Linked DNA regions of Homo sapiens: region 1 is linked to region 2. Evidence: promoter capture Hi-C in 16 types of primary human blood cells and fetal thymus (Javierre and others, 2016). All regions are on one chromosome and are shown on one strand. Each heading gives the region's core, a stretch centred on a gene start or on the middle of the fragment in contact. The rest is flanking DNA. Distances are from core to core; before and after follow the strand shown.

Evidence for each region. The method cuts DNA at HindIII sites, captures the fragments that hold promoters and counts their contacts. A CHiCAGO score of 5 or more calls a contact.
Region 1: a fragment that was not itself captured here is called in contact with the fragment with the promoter of GOSR2 in region 2 in 6 of 17 cell types (megakaryocytes, endothelial precursors, M0 macrophages and 3 more); the score reaches 8.4 in megakaryocytes.

Annotation. Positions count from the first base shown.
Region 1 is chr17:46,843,597-46,847,999 of GRCh38, forward strand. It overlaps a transcript of LRRC37A2 not described here and a transcript of WNT9B not described here. Among named protein-coding and RNA genes, the nearest start is that of WNT9B, 5.8 kb to the right of the region's middle. RefSeq lists a silencer at 1,288-1,453. The HindIII fragment of the contact is 4,291 bases long and covers 47-4,337 here.
Region 2 is chr17:46,921,677-46,926,008 of GRCh38, forward strand. It overlaps GOSR2 (golgi SNAP receptor complex member 2), which reads left to right and starts at 1,484. Exons shown (of 6, transcript NM_004287.5): 1 at 1,484-1,545. The coding sequence starts at 1,517. It overlaps GOSR2-DT (GOSR2 divergent transcript), which reads right to left and starts at 1,195. Exons shown (of 3, transcript NR_186460.1): 1 at 1,135-1,195. It also overlaps a transcript of LRRC37A2 not described here. RefSeq lists an enhancer at 1,460-2,184. The HindIII fragment of the contact is 7,846 bases long and covers 1,055-4,332 here.

The sequences.
Region 1 (4,403 bases), core at 942-3,441, 77 kb before region 2:
ATATGTGTCTTTGGTGCCAGCTCCCTGGGTTCTAATCCCGGTTCTAAGCTTACTAGCTGGCCAGTTACTTGACTTCTCTGTGCCCATTTCCTCATTTGTAAAATGCTGTGAGCATTAAATGGGTTAACAGTTTTATAGGACTTAGAACAATACCTGGTGTAATGTAAGTGCTCAATAACTAGTTTACACTTATATAGATATGTCAGAATGCTCTCTGTATTTATTTATGTGTCTTTCCCAACAAACTGTGTGCTCCTCAAGGACAAGAACTGACTTCATCATCTCCTATTCCAGGGTTTAGCACCAGATGCTTATTCAAAGTATGTTAAACTGAATATTATGTATTCATACTTTATTATTATTTTTTCTAAGACAAGGTTCTTGCTCTGTTGCAGTTCTTGCTCTGGAGTGCAGTGGTGGCATCATGGCTCATTGCAGTTGCAACTTCCCATGCTCAAGAAATCCTCCCATCTCAGCCTCCAGGGTAGCTGGGACTACAGGCATGTGCCACAATGCCTGGCTAATTTTTTTTTTCTTTTTTGTATTAGCAGGGTCTCACTGTGTTGCTGAGGCTGGTCTTGAACTCCTGGCCTCAAGCAATCCTCCTGCCTCAGTCTCCCAGAATGCTAGGATTATAGGCATGAGCCACTGTATCCAGCCTATACTTTATATAAAGTAGAAAATATGCAGTGAGGTGGAGTTAGCCACCTTTTTTTTTTTTTTTTTTTTGATAAGTTAAGCCTCAGCTTACTGCTTCCCAGAGATAAACCAAGGTTCGAGTCTCTCCTTTGTTTAAAGAAAAACATCTGGCTGGGCCACTGCAGTCCTACCATGAGTTCAGGAAAACGTGCTATGGTCCAACTGTCTACCAGTCAGGACACAGTTAATGAGCACTTCCTGTAAACTTATTTGTACCTGCAGTTCTGATAATATGACCTGGAGGAAATGGTGTGGTGGTGGCCGATTTCTAAAACTAACTGCAAAGGATTGCATTCCTCTAGGCACCTATGAACTTCAAGATGGGACCCCTTTCCTCTCGTCCTTCTTTTTAGAGAGTTTAGAGAGCAAGAACTTACTCAGATGAAAACAAACTAAAAGATGTTGAGAATGCCTCTGTGCAGACCCAAATCTATAGGATGTTATTTATAGTAAATTATGGCATATTTTTAAACTTCTAGTCCCTAAGAAAGTTGTTTTCTTGCCTCCCTCCTTCCCTTCCTTCCTTCCTTCCTTCCTCTTTCTTCTTTCTTTCTTTTTTATTTTTTGGAGATGGAGTTTTGCTCTTGTTGCCCCAGGGCTGGAGTGCAATGGTGGGATCTCTGCTCACTGCAACCTCCGCCTCCCAGCTGCAAGCAACTCTCCTGCCTCAGCCTTCTAAGTAGCTGGGACTACCGGCATGCACCACCACACCTGGCTAATTTTTTGTATTTTTAGTAGAGATGGGGTTTCACCATGTTGACCAGTCTGGTCTGGAACTCCTGACCTCAGGTGATCCACTCGCCTCGGCCTCCCAAAGTGCTTGGATTACAGGCGTAAGCCACAGTGCCTGGTCTCCTTCCTCCTTCTTTTGAGCAGTATCCATAGCTATGTCCTGTGTGGAATGCCTTTCTGTTGTAAAACACCCCAACGTAGAGTCTTTCACTAGTGCTTTGCCCATAGGGGACTTCACGGTGGTTGAAGACAGAATGCCCTGCTGCTCCGTGCCACCTGCCCAGCCATCTCCTAGTCTCTAGGTCAGCTCACTGTATTCTATGCTCCTGGAAGTGGTAACCAGGGCTGGGGTGGGGGTTATATTCACGGTGAGCCCAGTGCCCAAACAGAGCTTGGACATATATGTCACCTGACATACATGAGTCGACTTACAGGGACAATGGAGTGAGTTATCTGAATTTTTTTTTTTTTTTTTTTTTTGAGACAGAGTCTTGCTCTGTCACCCTGGCCAGAGTGCAGTGGCACAATCTCGGCTCACTGCAACCTCTGCCTCCTGGGTTCAAACGATTTTCCTGCCTTGGCCTCCCGAGTAGCTGGGGACTACAGGTGCCCGCCACCACACCTGGCTAACTTTTGTATTTTTAGTAGAGATGGGTTTCACCATCTTGGCCAGGCTGCTCTCAAACTCCTGACCTTGTGATCCAACCACCTCGGCCTCCCAAAGTGCAGGGATTACACGTGTGAGCCACTGTGCTGGCTTTTTTTTTTTTTTTTTTTTTTTGAGATCAAATCTCGTTCTGTCCTCCAGGCTAGAGTGCAGTGGTGTGGTCTCCTTTCACTGCAAACTCCGCCTCCTGAGTTCAAGCGATTCTCCTGCTTCAGCCATCTGAGTAGCTGGGATTACAGGCACCTGCCACCAGGCCCAGCTAATTTTTGTATTTTCAGCAGAGATGGGGTTTTGCCATGTTGGCCAGGGTGGTCTTGAACTCCTGATCTCAGGTGCTCCACCCACTTCAGCCTCCCAAAGTTCTGGGATTATAGGTGTGAACCACCGTGCCCGGCCATGTTATCTGAAATTGAGAGTTCTCCTCCAGGTCACTACTTACTTACCTATAACTACTAGACAGAACTGGACTGCTCAAAGCACTCCTGCTAGTTTCAACCGTTTCAGTACAGATGGCTCATCCTGTCTCTCATGAACATTATAAAATCAGAGGCAGGGTTTGTAGCCATCAATAAGTCAGGTCTGACCTTCCACAGTCCAATGTTTATTCATTCAGTTATTCATTCATTAATTCAGTTATTTAACAATGTTTTTACTGTGGGCTGAAACTCAGTACCACTATGGGAGGAAGTGTGGGATAGAAAAGAAACAGGGGACAGGGTCTCAGATCTTGAGGTGTCTGCAGTCTACACATAGCAGGGATGCCTAATCTCCCAAACTCAAGGACAGTGTATATCAACATAGGCACTGGCACAAAGTACAGTTGTGCCAATAAAGGTTGTAGAACCAATGTGGTGAGTGAGCAGAGGCAGGAATTGTCAGTCAAGGTGGGGTTCCAGCTGCCCTTGGCCACAGAAGCATGGCTGGGTGGGGGGCCACCAAAGGGCTGCTTCTCTGCATTCAGCCTGCCTTGGCTGAACTCAAAGATGCTGCTGGATAAAGGGCTGGAGAATGGCCTTGAATAGGCAAGGGGCAAGAGAAGGTGGGTCCCACACCGTCCTCACAACACAATTCAAAGAGTTCTGTGAGGAAGAAGAGGGAGGGAGGGAGGAACAGAAGTGAGAAGGCCTCGAACTGGAAGTGCCATGGGGAGTGGTGAGCTCTGCCAGCTCTGGAGTGAGCTTCCCAAGATAGGACAGGGGCCCTTCCCGCAGAAGGACAGATGAGTGAAGGTCACAGAGGACTCCAGTCCAGAAATACTGCCCTGCCCCTCCCAAATACCTTTCCTGCAAATGCTTAAAGTTCCACCATTGGAGATGTATTGTTATGTATTTTTCTCCTCCCCACTTTCAGTAATTTTTTTCATTATAAATGTCAAACATTCTTGTCATAGAAAACTAGGAAAATGCAAGGAAGATAAAAACATTTCTTACCCCACACTCCCAACCTCCAAGGCAGCCCCTATTAACATTTTGGTGTCCTTCTCTGCCCCCTTTTTTGTCATTTTCAGGCATGGCTGTGAGTTCCCTGGAGGGGATTCTGAAGCCCACTTTCCCCACTTAGCTTCAGTCCTATTTCAGTCTGGTGTTCCAGAAAAATCAAGTCTTCCATCCCCGAGAGCCAGTGAGTTCTATGACCTTGAGGAAGTCATTCATCTTTCTGGACTTTAGTGCCCTCATCTGTATAATGGGGACAATCATGGCCCACATGCTACCTCACAGTGCTCCAGAGTCAATGCTAGTGCAATGTTGCAAGGGCATTGCCAATACAGTTCAAGTATGTGGGGCTAGGACTGATGGGAGTGGTCAGGACTCAGCCAGTCATCATAAGGCTATGACAAGAAGGCCAGGTCACCTGGAGGATGGGGAAGGACAGGGAGAGGGACAGGTGAGCCCACACCCACACCAGTCCTGTCCAGGCTCCCCAGGACCAGCCCTCCTGGGCAGCTGTGTGTCAGGTCAGCATGGGCACCTTCCCTCGGAGCTGCTGGGGCATCATCTGTTCCACTTCCTGTTGGGTCCAGAGTTCATTTCCAGTGCAGTTTGAGGGAGATTAGAGGAGAGAGCCAGCCTGGGAAGCCGCATTTCCACTTGGGAGGCACAGGAGATATGGAGCCAACCAAAGGCGGATGGTTCCTGAGGGTTTGTTTCAGGCAGGGTGGGCTGGCCTGGGGGCAGGTGCCGGGAAGAGGAAGGAGAGGTCTGCAGACATCCTGGAGCTAGATTTGATGTGGCCATAGCAAAGCTTTCAGCCTCATCATGTTTGTGATTTCCAAAGTGTGTGTGTGTGTGTGTGTGTGTGTGTGCAC
Region 2 (4,332 bases), core at 234-2,733:
TGAACAGACACTTCTCAAAAGAAGACATTTATGCAGCCAACAGACACATGAAAAAATGCTCATCATCACTGGCCATCAGAGAAATGCAAATCAAAACCACAATGAGATACCATCTCACACCAGTTAGAATGGCGACCATTAAAAAGTCAGGAAACAACAGCTGCTGGAGAGGATGTGGAGAAATAAGAACACTTTTACACTGTTGGTGGGACTGTTAACTGGTTCAACCATTGTGGAAGACAGTGTGGAGATTTCTCAGGGATCTAGAACTAGAAATACCATTTGACCCAGCCATCCCATTACTGGGTATATACCCAAAGGATTATAAATCATGCTGCTATAAAGACACATTTACATGTATGTTTATTGCAGCACTATTCACAATAGCAAAGACCTGGAACCAACCCAAATGTCCAACAATGACAGACTGGATTAAGAAAATGTGGCATATATACACCATGGAATACTATGCAGCCATAAAAAATGATGAGTTCATGTCCTTTGTAGGGACACGGATGAAGCTGGAAACCAACATTCTCAGCAAACTATCGCAAGGACAAAAAAACAAACATTACATGTTCTCACTCATAGGTGGGAACTGAACGATGAGAACACTTGGACACAGGAAGGGGGACATCACACTTCGGGGCCTGTTGTGGGGTGGGGAGAGGGGGAAGGGATAGCATTAGGAGATATACCTAATGTAAATGACGAGTTAATGGGTGCAGCACACCAACATGGCACATGTATACATATGTAACAACCCTGCACGTTGTGCACATGTACCCTAGAACTTAAAGTATAATAATAAAAAATAATAAAATAAAGAAAAAAAATCTATAACTACATTTCTTGTAATTTTGTCTTTTGAGAGTATACATATCTTATTTCCTTTCCCAGACCAGAACCTCTTTGAGGGCAGGAGGAACCCGGTTTTCCCTACTTTACACATGACACATAATAACCACTCATTCAATGTAGGTTTACTGGATGGATAAATAGGAATGGGGGGTAGATAGGCGGGAGAGTGAGTAGACAAATGCGAAACAGGAAAAGCTTGCGCCAGGAAAAACAGTGAAGAGCGAAATCTCCAGACCCCCGATTAAATGGTTTAAAGTGAAGCCAAGCAAGAACCTCCAGTCCTCTCTGCGGCAGAGAACAGCAGATGATAGCGGCTCGCCTTCAACTTTGCTCTGAGGACCTCTCGTTAGTATCCCGCGATTGTCCTTCCTAACGCCTGACTGAATCCTGAGGCTAGCCTTCAGCGAACATGTACACCGCCTTGCCCTTCACGTGAAGCCGAGCCTGTGACTACACTTATCCTTCCGTCGCCGGCCTCATTTCTCCTTCCCCTTCTCCGATCTCGCAACCACTGCTAGTAAGGCGCGCGTGCGGGCAGCCCTGGCCGGCAGGGGAGGGAGGGTCCTGCGACCGGAAGCCGGAAACCGGAAGGGGGGCTGTGAGGACGTGTTCCGAGGAAGCCAGAGCCGGAGCCGTGGCCTGCGGGGCCGGCGACATGGATCCCCTGTTCCAGCAAACGCACAAGTGAGGGCCGGTCGGGGAGCGGGCAGGGGCTAGACGAGGCGAGGCCAGGTGAGCCTGGCTTCTGGGGCTGAGGCCTCGGACGTCAGCCAGGGTAGAGGCCGAGTTTTTCCGCCAGGGCACTGCTGGGGATGCCTCCGAAGTGCTTAATCCTTGGCGGGACTCCCAGGTCAGCCACAGACAGTGGGTTCAGGCTGGGGCCTGGAGACGTGGGGCAGATGACTCCTGGGGTCTGCAAGTTCGTGACTACCTGCTGGGTAGACTGGGTGACGGGAAACTGGCACCTGCAGGTTATAAAACTTTGTCCAGCACTTGTCAACTCGGTGCTCCTGGTTGGTAGACCTCGAGAGGAGACACGGAGTAGGAGACACGGCCCCTGGCCGTAGGAGTGTACTGTTTAATTGGAGAGTCAGGGCACGTACGGGAAAGTATTTGTATTCTTATTCGATTTATACTAAAGACCACATTTTTATGGTACAAAGAAATTGCTGTCCACGTAGCATTCACTATTATTACTTGTTAATCGTATCTGGTTACAGGTTATCGCTAAGAAAATCAAATTGTAATTTAGTTTCTCATAACTTAAATTCCTTGGTAGTGTCCTTTATTCGCATCGTCCTGCACTTTCGGAATTGCTGAGATACGTAGTTGAGTATTAATGGGGCCATACTTACCCTATTTTTGGGGGCGGGGGGCAGAATTATGATTTTTACCCTGTTTTGGAGGGACGGAATTTTATGATTTTTATTTTTTATTGTAAAATATACACAACATAAGATTTACTGTTTTAACAATTTTTAAGTGTACAATTCAGTGACATTGAGTACATTCACAACTTACATCACTACGATCCATTTCCAGAACTTTTTCATCATCCCAGTGTGCCTGTTAATCAGTAGCACTTCATTTCTTCCTTCCAGAACACCTAGTAACCTCTGTTTTACTTCTCTCTATGAGTTTACCTATTCTAGATACTTAATATAAGTGGAGTCATACAGAATTTGTCCTTTTGTATCTGGCTTATTTCACTTAATGTTTTCAGGGTTCATCTATATTGTAGCCTGTTACCAGAATTTCATTCTGTTTTATGACGGAATAATATTCCGTTTTATGTGTCTACCACATTTTGTTATCCATTCATCTGTTGATGGACACTTGAGTTGTTTCCACCATTGGGCTGTTGAGAATAATACTGCTATGAACTCTGGTGTAGAAGTATCTGTTTTAGTTTCTCTTCTCAATTTTTTGAGGTATATACCTATCCTATTGAGAACTTTCAAACTTATGCTGTAGTTTTGTTGATTAAAACACTTAAAATCACACTCCCAAGGCCTGGAAATGAAATGCCCTGAAGCATGAGGAATAAGAGGGTGATGATCCTCTTTCTCTTTCATTTTCTAAGTTTATGGGTTTCTTTTATTTTGGCGATGAGGTGTTTCATTTGGACAGGCGAAAATACAGAACCTACTTTGTAATGACAGAATTTTCTTTTACACTGGGGAGCCCTATTCTCACATAAACGTTATAGGAAGGGACTTAAAACTAGTCTGTGAGTAATTTAGAGAAAGAATGAAACGAAATTATGTTCATGTTACTAAGAAAGGGCCTATCTTTCACAATAGCAGGGCACAATGGGCATAGTAGTGCCTTGAAGTTAATCTGTTATGTATGGTCTTATCTAGTTAATTTAGTTAAAGGATGTTGCCAAGAAGGCCATGACCCATTTTATATTCAAGAATAACTTTATTTAGAGAGTCTTAGACTACCTGTTTTCAGTGCAGCTAATCACAGAGAAAACTGCATGGCTCAGAAGAGGAATTCTAAATGGTACCCCAAACAAGGTGTGTGGAGTGTAGATGCTCTGTAGGCCTCCAACAATGCACCCTTGGACTCTAGCAGCTTGCCAGTTTTTTCTATTAAGGGCCAGATAGTAAATATTTTAGGCTCTGTGGGCTATACGGTCTCTGTAGTTACTACTCTGCTGTTATATTGGGAAAACAGCCATAGACAATATGTAAACTAATTGATGTACCTGTGTTCCAGTACAATTTTATTTATCAAAACAAGCAGTGGGCCAGCTTTGCCCCACAACTATTAGGCCCTCTGCTACCCCGACACTCATTAATTCATTGAATATTTATTGAGCACCTACTATGTGCTGTGCACCATTCTCAGTGCTGGCAGCACAGCCCTGCCCTCGAGGAGTTTACCTTCTTTTATGCTGCAGTATCTTGTCTATCTTTCCTCTCCAGTGCTGAACCAGGAGTGGGAGTTCTGGTTCTAGACCTCCTTACTTTATTTTTCCTCATCTGTAGAATGATATTATAATTTGGGCTGGTTAAACTGTAAGGCTCCTTTCAGTTCCATGATAACAGAACTGATGACTGAATGACTTTCACAAGAAACACGTGGAGTCCAGTGAGCACCAGCAATGAACTTTCGCAACTGCAGAAATTAGTGATTGTAGCTGAGTTGACACAACAGTAGCTGAACTTATTAATTTTACTGGAACTTTGAACCCAGTTTGTGATTATCTCTTGCCGTGTCACTGAATACATTGAGTACATTGGAATTAGATTGACATATTAAAGTTACTTGAAAACTCCTGAACCTACCTGAACAATGAATGAATGAAAATAATGAATGAATGAAAACAATAAACATTTTACACTTAAATGTTTAATTTAGATGAACTTTATAGAGGAGCTAATAGCCAGGCTTCTATTTTTGAGATCCCAATGGTTGTAAAGGTGACCACATTTGTCCCCTATGTAGTCCAAGATCAGTCTC